Regions from separate parts of the Homo sapiens genome. Here all the other regions are linked to region 3. Evidence: promoter capture Hi-C in 16 types of primary human blood cells and fetal thymus (Javierre and others, 2016). All regions are on one chromosome and are shown on one strand. The core of a region is centred on a gene start or on the middle of the fragment in contact, and the rest is flanking DNA. Distances in the headings are between cores, read along the strand shown.

Region 1 (4,134 bases), core at 41-2,540, 500 kb before region 3:
CCACAAACACCCTCCTTCTGGCCCTGGCCTGAGTTGGGAAGGGCAGCCCAACTGGGTGGCAAGGCCCGGGTCCCAGTATCTTCAGGGGTCTCCCCCTCCTCCTTCTCCCCAGTGGACTTCGAGTGTCCGTTGACCTCTCTGGCAGAAGCCACAGAGGCCAGGGCTGGCAGTTTGGCTGAGGCCAAAGCCCCACCATGGTCGGGTCGGGGCTGCTTGGACTCACCCTGCCCAGGCCCCCCCTTGGCCCTGGGACCTCTGCGGTTGCTGCGTTTGGCGATCAGGTAGATGCGCAGGTAGACAAGGATCATGATGAGGCAAGGAGCAAAGAAAGATCCGATGCTGGAGGCCAGGATGTACCAGGCCTCCTGGTTGAGCTTGCACTGGGGGCGCCCGCGCGGCTGGGGGCCCTGGTCGCCCTTGTAGATGAGGGGCGGCAGCGAGATGACGGCGGCGATGAGCCACACAGTGAGGATGATGCACTTGATGCGGCGCGGGGTGCGCTTGGAGTTGTACTCCAGCGCGCGGCTCACGGCCCAGTAGCGGTCCAGGCTGATGGCGCACAGGTGCACGATGGACGAGGTGCAGAAGAGCACGTCGAGCGCCAGGTACACCTCGCACCACGTGCGCCGGAAGTACCAGTAGCCCAGCAGCTCGTTGGCCAGCGAGAAAGGGATGATGAGCGTGGCCACCAGGATGTCGGCGGCGGCCAGCGACACCAGGAACAGGTTCTGAGGGGCGCGCAGCGAGCGGCTGGTCAACACAGCCAGGATGACCAGAGCGTTGCCGAAGATGGTAAAGAGAATGAGGAAGGTGATGGCCGCCGCTATGGCCGCTGTGGCCTGCACGGAGTAGGGGTCCTGGTGGTCCATGACGGGGCGGGAGGTGGGCAGAGGGAGCGCTGCCCGCCCAGTGCGCACCGTGGACGACAGCGCTGCCCGGCTCGGCTAGACAAGAGCGTCGCCCCTCGGGCGGCGCCGAGGGCGCTGGAGCCCCATGGCCTGGACGAGCGGGGCCTAGGAGGTCGGGAACACCCAGGACCAGCAGCCGCCCTCCTACATCCTCCTCCACCGGTGCCCGGGGTCCCTGCCGTCCGCCCCAGAGAAGTTTCCCAAGTTGTCCCGCCGCCGTCCCCGTCCCGCCCGGGACCGGAGAAAGTCGCGCCCTCCCGCCACGCGGATGCCGTACGCTCTGGGGGCGCGGGCCGGGCTGGGCCGGTTCTTAAAGGAGGCGCGGAGGACCTTGCGCCCGCTCAGCTCGCAGGCTTTCGCCCCAGCCGCGCCTGCAGGGGAGTGGGGAGCGGGGAGAGCGGCTGGAGGAAGGCGGAGACTGGAGGCGGGCGCGGGAGCGGGCGGGAGGCGGGGCGGTGGGCGGACCGAGGTGGGCTGAAGGTGCGCTTCGCGGGAGGCGTGAGCCCGGGACTTCCCGCGCCCGGACCCCGCCCAGCGCCTCTACCTGCCTTCCTCCCGGCGGCCGCGCCTCGGGAGAGCGGAGGGGCCCGGCGGCCGGGGTCTCCGGCCCCCAGGCAGGACGCGCGCAGCTGTGGAGGGGTCGGTGGGTGCCGGGAGCCGGGACGCGGAGCTAGCGCGCGGGCCGGCACCGGGACGGGACACTTCTCCCGGGGGAACCGGGCTGGGCCCGGCGCCGGTGCGCCCTGCTCTGCCTTCCGCCGCTCGGGAGCCCGCAGGGAGGGCAGGGCGGGCGTGGGGCTGGGGCGCCGGGTCGCAATACACCACAACCCCGCCCGGCTCGGCCGTGGAGACGCCCTGCGGAGAGGTGGGGGAGCGGGGAGCGGGGAGCCGGTCCCGACCCTTTCCCAGGCGCTGCCCCTCGCGGACCAGCTCCGTCGGGCCAGCGCCGCGCGAGGAGGGCGCGTCCCGGCCTGCGAGCGCCCCCTGCTGCCGCCCGCGGGCCCAGCCCGTCAGCGGCAGCCCGGGTCCCGGAGCCAGCGCTCGCAGCCTGGGTCTTAGGACTTCGGCTTCTTGTGTCTCCGCAGCTGCCTCAGTTTCCTCCATTAAGGGCAAAGGAGGTAACAGGGAAACTGGCTTGGACTCGAATCACAGCATCAACTGCGATTCAGCCAAGGGTTTGTACGGGGCACAGGGCGAGCTGCCGCCCCTTGACTAATGCGAAGGGGAGGTCCCTTCCTTGCCGTGGGGGAGTAAAGGGTGGGGACTTTGTCACACAGCTCCGAGAAAAAGCAGGTCTCAGGGGCAGCCGTGAAGAGAGGAGCGTCCCTCCGCTTCTGTAGTGACCCCGGGGGAAGGGGTTGACCCTCCCTCCCTGCTGCGGTCCTGCCCCACATACACACTGAAGCCCTTCTGGGGGTGACAGTGGAAAGAGGGTTGGGGTAAAAAGAAACTTCAGACTAAGGCCCCCCACTCGCCTTCAAAGCGCTATGAGCAACTGTTCTCCCTCAGGGCCCCAACTCACTCTCCCTGCCACACCGCCACCAGCACCAGCCTGGGCAGCCCTGAGGGCATGTTTCCCCGGTTCTGGAGCCCCTAATGTCATAAGCCCCGCCTCGAGCCAGGCCTCTTATTCACAGCCCACGACTCTGCAAGGCATCCTCTGTATAAATAAGCACCAATCCACCTCTGACAGTGGGGCTCCCCCAGGCCCCGTCCAACCTGCTGGACCTCCTCTCCTCCCTGCTCCCTCCATGGGAGCAGAGCACGTGGCCTCTCAGTGCCCACGGACAATGTCTAGCGCCTCCCCAGGCTCAGGTGGGAGGTGCCCCGTCTCAGGTACCCAGACCAGCACCCCCAGCCACGGGGGTGTGTTGGGAGTAGGTGCCTCCTTGATCCCCCCATCCCTGTCATTCTGCCAGACTCCCCAGCTTCTGGTGAGGTGCAAGTGCCCACAGCCCATGGGGTGGATGCTGCCAGGGCTGGGTTCGGACAGGGCAATCAGCCTCCTTCCCACCCCCAACCCTAGGCTTCAGCTCAAAACCGACCACTCTGCTAGACACAGTTTCCTGGATGTGTCTTTCCCACCCTCTGGGCTGGGCAGGGCCTGGGCGCCGCCTGGGCATACATAACCAGTGATGGAGAGATGCCAGTAGCTCTTTCCCTGAGGAAGGACAGAGGGTGGCCATGAGAGCCTGGGAGCAGCTACTTAGGCAGGTGCCTGCCTATCCAGGGGCTCCCAAGGCCTTCACAGTCTGGGCCTGCTAGAGGCCCACATGGGCATCGGGAGGAACCGCCTTTCCACTGTCTCCAACCACACTTGGGCTGGGGGCCAGTGAGCAGCTCCCCAGACTCTGCAGCCAGCATCAGCCTTTGTCTTCTGACCCATCTTCCTTCAAGGGATGCTGCAGGAGCTGAGACTGGGTTGCCCGTGTGCCCTCCCCACCCTGCAAGTCCCCACTGAGGACGCTTACCTGGGCCTTCCTAGAAGTGACAACTTTGGGTCTACTGAGTGCCAAGCCTTGCTAGGCATCTTTCATTGGGCCAGCTAGGCACTAGGCCAGGTGGGGACAGCCAGGGACAGAGTCTACAGCTGGCAGACCTGGGAGATGTGTGCCCTCCGGGCAGCAGGAGCTGCCTTGGCATCCATACCGCTGCCCCAGGCTGTCACCGTCTACTGCAGCTGTCTCCTCCTGGCTCCACCCCAGGATGGACAAGTGCAGCGTGGGTGCGCCAGCTCTCCACGGCCACGCAGGCCATAACATAACTCAGCTCCTGCTCCTCTCGGCGGCTCACCATCTCCCCCCGCACACACACACCTTCAGGCCTTGCCTGCTCCAACCAGCCCCATGAGGCTGCCAGGTGCAGGAATTGGAGCCTACTAGCATAGCAAGGCTTCCTTCAGCTCTTCCCAAACTAGACCTGACCTTCCACTGTCATCCTGTTCCACAGGAACGGGCATAGTTCAGTCCCAGACCAGCAACAGCCAGCAGCAGGAGCAGCCGGAGCTTTCCCAGACACATAGCAGGGGAGTGGGCAGCAGGGCACAACCTGGATCCCAGCCCTCCATCCCTGCCCCGCCAGGCCAGTGTTGGATTCTGAATGTGCCCTGGGTCTCCACTCTCTAGACCTTCCCTGGGGCTGTTTGCTCTGATAGAGATGCCCTATCACCCTTCCTTCTGTGTTTGGTGGGCTCCTACTCACATTTCAAGGCCCACTCACCAGTCAC
Region 2 (4,014 bases), core at 123-2,622, 410 kb before region 3:
ATTTTAAGTTGCATTTATAAAAGTTATCTTTCCTGCTAGGAAAAGTATTCCCAGTTCTTAAGATAGACTTGCATTTACCCACAATTCATAGTGTGGCACAAATAGCTGCCTGGCATCTGGGTGTTACACCTCCCACACAGGCCATGGTATAAACTTTATTGGGGTATTTCCATTTTTAACCTAACAAAAAATGTGGAATAACAGGTTGTTTCCCTGTGGAGGAAATATCAAGAATAAACAGGCGAGTGTGGAATCTGCGGAGGGAGGGGATTGTCTCTGGTTCCCGAAATCACGGCAAAGTACTTTCTGTGCAGGGAGGGCACAGTTTAAGAATATCTGTTGCAAAGAAAATACAGACACAAGGTAAACCAAAAACCAAAGCAAAGTTTCCCCATGACATTACCTGGAAACTACAGTCTCAGAACTACAGATTAACAAACGTAATCAATGGTACTGGGCTTTTCACAGTTTTGATGACGACAGCATGACTTCAGAGTCTAATGGGACACTATTCCCAAAGTTCTAGTTAACGTCGCAAAAATCTGACCTAATTCTTACAGGTTCAAATGTCTGGGCTGCTGGTTTGTGTAACCTGGACAAAATCGCTTCCAGGCTCTCAATTTTGCCACGAGTCACGATGACAGAGGGCTCTCCTGGCTTTTCTCACAGGCCTGAGTCCCATCTGGATTGAAGTCATTTTGCAAATAGCAGCCCACCACCCTTAGGCCAAATTTAAAATTTGTTTTGAATTTGCACCTTTCTGGTTGTGTTAAAGATTACAGATTACATGAACAAGGGCCTCCATGCCTTCGCTATCTAATTGATTTCTACAGTGTTGTTTCTTTACTGTCTTGCTCGCCCCACTCAAAGTCTCCCTCCTACACACCAGCCTACACACTTTCAGTTCTATTTTATAACCCGACAAATGCAAATTGACACACAGAGACAAATAACAACGCGGTTTGCTGAAGCAGGTTCAATCGACTGTATTGCCAATTAAAAGACCACCGGGTAAACAAGGGCCAACGACCACAGGGCAGGCCCCAGGGTTCACAAGCCCCCCCACCCCACGGCCCAGAAAGAGCTCGCCGCAGCGCCCACCTCTGCAACTCCTCCTCCTGGATCCTCTCCTCGTCCCAAACGAAGACGCCGGCTAACGCCGCCATCAAGGCAGAGGCATGGCCAGGACGGCCGTGCAGCCGGCGCCAGAGGCGGCCGAGGAGAACGCGGCGTGAGCTCTCGGAGTAGAGGCGGCCGTAGAGCTGCGCGATCTGCTGCGCGCGCCGCACGCGCAGGCCCGTGACGAAGCGGCACTGATTGGCCAGAAGCGCCAGCAGGCCCCCGCCCCGCGTCCCCGCCAGCCAGGCGGCCAGCAGCCTCCGCGGGAGCATGCCGCCTCCCGCAGGGCCCGCCGCGAGCTTCCGGGGCCCAAGGAACCAGTCCGGAGGGGCGCAGGCGGTGGTCGCAGCGTCCCCCTAAATGGCCGGCCACGAACCCGTCTCACGGTCCCGCGGCCAGGAGCCGCCGCTCATCTGTCTCTGCAGCCACCGCTGAGGAAGAGTCTCCTCTGAGGGGAGAGTCGGTCATGGCAGCAGACGCCGGGATGGCTCCGCGACTGCTACACCAGGCACTCCTGGGCCCGGGCAGCAGACCAGTCAGCCCTGTGGCTCCTCGGCGACCTCCAGCGGGCGCCCGGGGCCGGGATGCAGGGCGCGCGGACAGAAACGAGACAGACAGCTCAGGCCCAGCAGCACGCAAGCTCCCGCGCCTTCCGCGACTGCCACACGCGCGGCGCGCGCGCACCCTACTTTTTCTCCGCCACCTGGGCCGTGATTGGGCGCGACCTGGGCTCCTGGGTGCTCATTGGCGCCGTGAAGTGCTCGTCACCGCCCCCTCCTGCCCCTTCATGCATGCGCGGAGGCCGCCTGCTAGCAAGGTAGGTGGCTCGGCGGCGAGAGCCGTCAAGGGCGCATTGGAGAGTGACCCTCGGACCCGGCTGCCGCCGTCGCCGCCATCTTCCGGCCGTCCCAGCCCCGCCCCGCGGAGAAACCTGGCCAGGTTCCTGTTAGAATCCTGCCAGGTGTTAACTTGTTTTAAGAGGCCGGCACGCTGGCCCCCTTCTTTATTAGAGTGCAGGGTGGGGGCGGGGCTCCGCATGTCTCTGCGGGGGCTGGGGGCTCCCAGTGATAACCGCCATTGCAGAATTAAAACTGAGACAGTGAAAGAGATCTGACCTAACCAATTCCATCTTGCTTCTGTCCTTGTTCATTCCTGAGCTTAGGTGAACTAATTTTGGGAGGAACTTAGTTTATAGTTTAAAATAAAGAGGATAACAGCCCTTTCCCAAAACAAATCTTCTTATCTGGGAACTAGACTGCCTTTGTAGGACTAATAAGTTAGCCATAAGATTGGAAATTATGGTTTAGGAGTCATGCAGCTGGAGGCTACGATATTGTGATCCCCCTAAACTGCTCTTAAGATCAGTGCTTGAGATATTTTGCTGACCCCGCACTGGTTGGATCCTGGCACCACCCAGATGGATAAACTGGCTCATCTGACCTTGTGGCCCCCACCCAGGAACCAACTCAGTGCAAGAGGACAGCTTCAATTCCCTATTATTTCATCTCGACCCAACCAGTCAACACTCTGGACTCACTGGCCTTCCCCCACCCACCAAATTATCCTTAAACACTCTGATCCCGGAATGCTAAGGGAGACTGATTGAGTAATGTTGAAACAAACTCCAGTCTCATAGTGGGCTCTGCGTGAATTACTCTTTATTGCAGTTCCCCTGTCTTGATAAATCGGCTCTGTCTAGGCAGTGGGCAAGGTGAACCCATTGTACGGTTACAAATTTGGGGGTTCGTCTGGGATACCCCTTGTGGCTACCTGTCCATGGTTCGGTAGCCCCACCTCTGGTGACAGATCCAGAGGCCAGCCTAAGCGGCCACATAGTTCTCTTGGACTAGGGGCTAACTCTGGCACCGTCTCTGCCAGTGGGGCACTGCTAGCCCAATATGCATGGACTTAATCGCAATGGAGAAATAGTCCTGGGGAGACATCCCATAACTGTAGCCCTGTCACAGGGTATCTGTAGCTCCATAGCGGGGCGCTGTAGCCAGGTCATGGAGTGTCTGTAGCTATAGCCCCATCATGGGGTGGCAGGTTGCTGAGTATCCTAGGTGCTGCCAGTGCCTCCTTCCTTCTCCGGACTGATTCTGTAGCCACATGGTGGGTGTCTGTAGCTCCACCATGGGGTGTCTGTCTCAGTTTGGCTCCTGGGGCATCCCAGTTGGCTGTCCCTAACTAGGAAGAGTCTTGGTTCGGGAGACTTCTCAATCAGGAATATTTCAGGGAGATTTGTCAGATGGAGAATAGGAGGATAGTTTGGAAGGGGTACTCTTGGAGTTCTTGGTTAGGGACCTTAATTTGGAAGGCCTTCTGTCTGTCTTGTCTTCGTGTGTGTGTTTGTATATATGGAGGGGATCTCTGAAGGAATTGCTGATGAAAATCCAGCAGGCCTAACTTGGAGAACACTCCTTATTTATCTAGTCACATTCAGTGAGCCCTGAAAGAAGTTTAACAGGCCTGATTCAGGGTGACTGCTCAGAGACCACCCATTGAATTCACGATTCAATGACCCACCGTGCCTGGCCTTAAAAGGATTTTTTCTTAGAAAAAAGAGCTCTAGGCCGGGCATGGTGGCTCACACTTTTAATCCCAGCACTTTGGGAGGCCAAGGCGGGCGGATCACGAGGTCAGAAGATCCAGACCATCCTGGCTAACACGGTGAAACCTCGTCTCTACTAAAAATACAAAAAATTAGCCGGGCGTGGTAGTGGGCACCTGTAATCCTAGCTACTCGGGAGGCTGAGGCAGGAGAATGGCGTGAACCCGGGAGGTGGAGCTTGCAGCAGTGAGCCGAGATCGCGCCACTACACTCCACCCTGGGCGACAGAGCGAGACTCCGTCTCAAAAAAAAAAAAAACAAAGTTGACTTATAGAGCCAATAAG
Region 3 (3,827 bases), core at 120-2,619:
TAAGACCAAACTGCAAAGGATCTTCATGTTCTTTGTAACTCACTCTAGAACTGTGAGCCACTCAACACTTTGAGGCAAAGGATGTGACCCTGGGTTAAGCTTTATCTAACAGTAGTATATAGCTTTGAAACCAAAAAGCCTTGACACTTGCTTCCTGTCAACAAGGGATAAAAAATCAATACTGACTTTTCCACTTGGAGCTGGGAAGACCAAGCTTCCCTGGCCCTTCCAGCATTGCATTCACTCTCAACAGCCAATTAAAAGGCTAAGGTCTATACCTTCTCTGCCCTCTTTATCATAATGGATCTAATAGTGAAAGTAGCTGGGTGAAGAGCATGATCCCATCCACCTGCGCTTTCACATCCAGCAGGCACTTTAAAAGTAAAACAATCCTATAATCATTTATATCCTTTGGGAAACAACCAAAGTATTTGTTGTGAATCTAAATATAGTCATGGGAAAATAAGAGTCCGATGGCAGAGGAACCACTGCGGAGAGCACAGCCCAGAGAGGATGTTGCCTTGAGTCTGAGGCCCTTGCTGACTGGTGTACCAGCGAGCCTTCCACTATTCCAGTCAACCCACACCGTGGCCCAGCAGCATGGGAGGAAAACACCCAACTATGCATGCTATGGAGTCCCCCCAGTGGTCTGCCATGCTCATAATATCCGACATGCACCCAGGAGATGTCCAGTCAGTAACTTAAATAGGGCAGCAGTACAAATTCCTCCTTAAAGGGAAATTATGCTAGCCACAGTGAGTGAAGCAGGGTCACCAGAGAACTGAGACCCTGGCCACTACCAACACTCATCTCCTACAGTGTATTCACCAATGTTACACTTTTACCGTAGGTAGAATGCTGAGGAGAACATATGTGAAGATGCCTACGATACTTCTGGGCCACCACTCTCTGTCTGCCAGGATCCAGTCTGGGCCCCACACTCTACCTGCCCACCACTCACCTCCCGGGTCCAGGGTTTCTACTACAGGGGAGCAGTACAGGGGAAAGTCTGGGACTCCCTTTTCATTTGTCTCTTTCTTCACTAGAAAATACACTCCACCAGAGAAGGGACCAGTTTTGTTTTGCTCACCCCAGTACCTGACACACGTAGGGCCCAAAATAAGTATTAGTTAAACAAAAAAACTAGTGTCAAATTTCCTACCATGAATATCATTAATGTATCTAGTCCTGAGTTTTATTTCAGCACTAAACCAGTCTTCTAACAAACTTGGCACCCTTTAACTTAAAAACACATAAGAAACAATGAGTCTGCAAGTTTTGGGGATGTGGCTGAGGGAACGTGTTGGCCAGGCAACTTACAGCAGCAAGATGAGCCAGCTTCCTGTGAAGCAGAAAGTAAAACTATTAAAAAAAAAAAAAAAAGTGTCAAAAACTGAATCATGCTTATGCCTGTAATCCCAGCAATTTGGGAGGACAAGATGGGAGGACTGCTTGAGGCCAGGAATTCAAGACGAGCCTATAGCAAGACCGTCTCTACAAAAAAATTAAAAATTTAGCTGGGTGTGGCAGGGCACGGCAGCTCACGCCTGTAATCCCAGCACTTTGGGAGGCCGAGGCGGGCGGATCACGAGGTCAGGAGATCGAGACATGGTGAAACCCTATCTCTACTAAAAATACAAAAAAAATTAGCTGGGCGGGGTGGCACACGCCTGTAGTCTCAGCTACTCAGGAGGCTGAGGCAGAATTGCTTCAACCCAGGAGGCAGAAGTTGCAGTGAGCCGAGATCGTGCCACTGCATTCCAGCCTGGGCGACAGAGTGAGACTTTGTCTCAAAAAAAAAAAAAAAAAAAATTTCTTTGCTGGGTGTGGTGGTAGCACACACCTCTAGTCCCAGTACTTGGGAGGCTGAGGCAGACGGATTGCTTGAGCCCAGGAGTTCGAAGTTATAGCAAGCAATGATAGTGCCACTGCACTCCAGCCTGAGTGAGAGAGGAAGATCCTGTCTCCAAAGAAAAAAAAAAAAGGCCTCAGACAACTTGGATTGATTTGGTTCTTTCTCTTCTCTCTCTCTCTCTTTCTTAGAGACAGGGACTCCCTCTGTCACCCAGGCTGGAGTGCAGTGGTGGGACTGAACTCACTACAGCCTCCTCCCACCAGCCTCCTAACTAGCTGGGACTACAGACGTGTGCCACCATGCCTGGCTAATTATTTTATTTTTAGTAGAGACAAGGTCTTGCTATGTTGCTCAGGCTGGTCTCAAACTCCTGAGCTAAAGCGATCCTCCTGCCTCAGCCTCCCGAAGTGCTAGGATAATAGGCATGAGCTACTATGCCCGGCCGTGAGGCCATTTTGTATTGGAGCAAAACACCCCAAATATTTCAAGAACCTATGAGGGTACTACTTAAATAACTGTTAATATTAGTAATAATAATTACTGTGGGCTCACTGCTTACTATGTGCCCAATTTTGTGTTAAGCCCCCTACCTGAATTAACTAATTTAATTTTCATAAAAATCCTAGATAGCTATTATTATCAGCCACATTTTAGAGATGAGACACCAGTCCAAGCTTACACAGCTAATCAGTAACAAAGCTGAGATCAGCCAGGCAATCTGCCTCCAGCATCCGCATTCTACCACATTGACGATAGCCTGATGCAATCACTGGAATCACCAAGAAAAACAGTTTAACTTTGTGCAATACTAAGTAAGAAAGCAGGGAACTATAATGATATGTTTGTACTGAATTATAAAAGTCTAAGTGTTGCTACTAAAGGCTCATGCCCTGGGGAGCAGAATTGAAGGCATCACGGCACGTTCCTGCTCTGCAATCTCCCAGTGCTCCGAGCACCAAGGGTCTGCTTCTGTCACCTTTCTCAACAAACTCTTCCCTGGTAAACCCTTCGTCTCCTTCATGATAATTCAATTCAGCCATGACTCAAACCACAAGCTGCAAGGCTAGGAAGGCTAAATGTATACTCTGGTTTTCAGGCCCCATACCTCATCCTGGAGCCAGCAGGGCTGAAAACGTTTACACCAGACACAAATGTGAAATGATACCCTGTCTCCCAATTTTAGTACCAAACCCATTAGTTTTGGCCATGCACTCCAGACCGACCAGATAATTACTTTGCCTAACCCCACATCCTGAACCCACAGGGGAGGATGGCTATCCCTAGGACAGGGCAGACCCCAATCACAGCCTTACCTTCCCCTTCAGCGTCTGCAAAGCATCCAGGTAGGCTGCCAGCATGGGCAGACTCAAGGTCTCCACAAGGGTGGTGTGCAGCCACTGGATCAGCTTGGTATCCCAGCTCACACTTGCCAGAGCCTGCCGCACTCTCCTTGCACACTTGTCCACAGCAACACGGCGCAGCACTGGCTCATTACAAGCCTGAAGGATGTAAGTGGAAGTAATAAAACATGAGGACTACCTGGTTAACAAGCAGGGGGACAAGTCAGTCAGCCAGTGAGGCCTGAACTACGAAGAGCCCACTGTGGGCGGATTGCTGGTGTCTTACCCCTTCGTTGGCCAAGCGGGCAAGCCGGTCAGACTGCAGGGCTTTGAGGATCTTGTTGAATAGCTTGTTCTGGGCCATTGTCCAGCCAGTCCTATAAGGGAAACTCTGAGGAATTATAGTCAAACCCTGGGGACGCTCCCCATGTATGTACACCATATAAAGAAGATTATGCCATAGTTTTATGTCTCTGCTAGGGAACAGTAAAACGAAGTAGCTTAGTCTAAGACCACTGACCTAAAACACAAGACCTAGATTCTTCTGGTCTCAATCCTACCAAATCAAATCGTCACAGCACACACTTGTATTAATAATACACACATACACACAATAATATACACAGTACAAG

What was found. The method cuts DNA at HindIII sites, captures the fragments that hold promoters and counts their contacts. A CHiCAGO score of 5 or more calls a contact.
Region 1: the fragment with the promoter of ADRA2B here is called in contact with a fragment that was not itself captured in region 3 in 4 of 17 cell types (total B cells, M0 macrophages, fetal thymus and 1 more); the score reaches 6.9 in total B cells.
Region 2: a contact is called between the fragment with the promoter of STARD7-AS1 here and a fragment that was not itself captured in region 3, in 1 of 17 cell types (non-activated CD4 T cells). The highest score is 5.2, in non-activated CD4 T cells.

What each region holds. Positions count from the first base shown.
Region 1 is chr2:96,115,281-96,119,414 of GRCh38, forward strand. It overlaps ADRA2B (adrenoceptor alpha 2B), which reads right to left and starts at 1,291. Exons shown (of 1, transcript NM_000682.7): 1 at 1-1,291. The coding sequence starts at 869. RefSeq lists silencers at 1,191-1,280, 1,381-1,540, 1,551-2,010, 2,051-2,120. The HindIII fragment of the contact is 8,066 bases long and covers 1-4,134 here.
Region 2 is chr2:96,207,044-96,211,057 of GRCh38, forward strand. STARD7-AS1 (STARD7 antisense RNA 1) reads left to right here and starts at 1,373. Exons shown (of 4, transcript NR_046322.1): 1 at 1,373-1,936. STARD7 (StAR related lipid transfer domain containing 7) reads right to left here and starts at 1,784. Exons shown (of 8, transcript NM_020151.4): 1 at 1,102-1,784. The coding sequence starts at 1,391. RefSeq lists silencers at 1,201-1,460, 1,811-2,030 and an enhancer at 1,478-2,068. The HindIII fragment of the contact is 17,331 bases long and covers 1-4,014 here.
Region 3 is chr2:96,616,191-96,620,017 of GRCh38, forward strand. KANSL3 (KAT8 regulatory NSL complex subunit 3) reads right to left here. Exons shown (of 21, transcript NM_001115016.3): 4 at 3,482-3,572; 5 at 3,169-3,354. Among named protein-coding and RNA genes, the nearest start is that of KANSL3, 20 kb to the right of the region's middle. The HindIII fragment of the contact is 2,315 bases long and covers 213-2,527 here.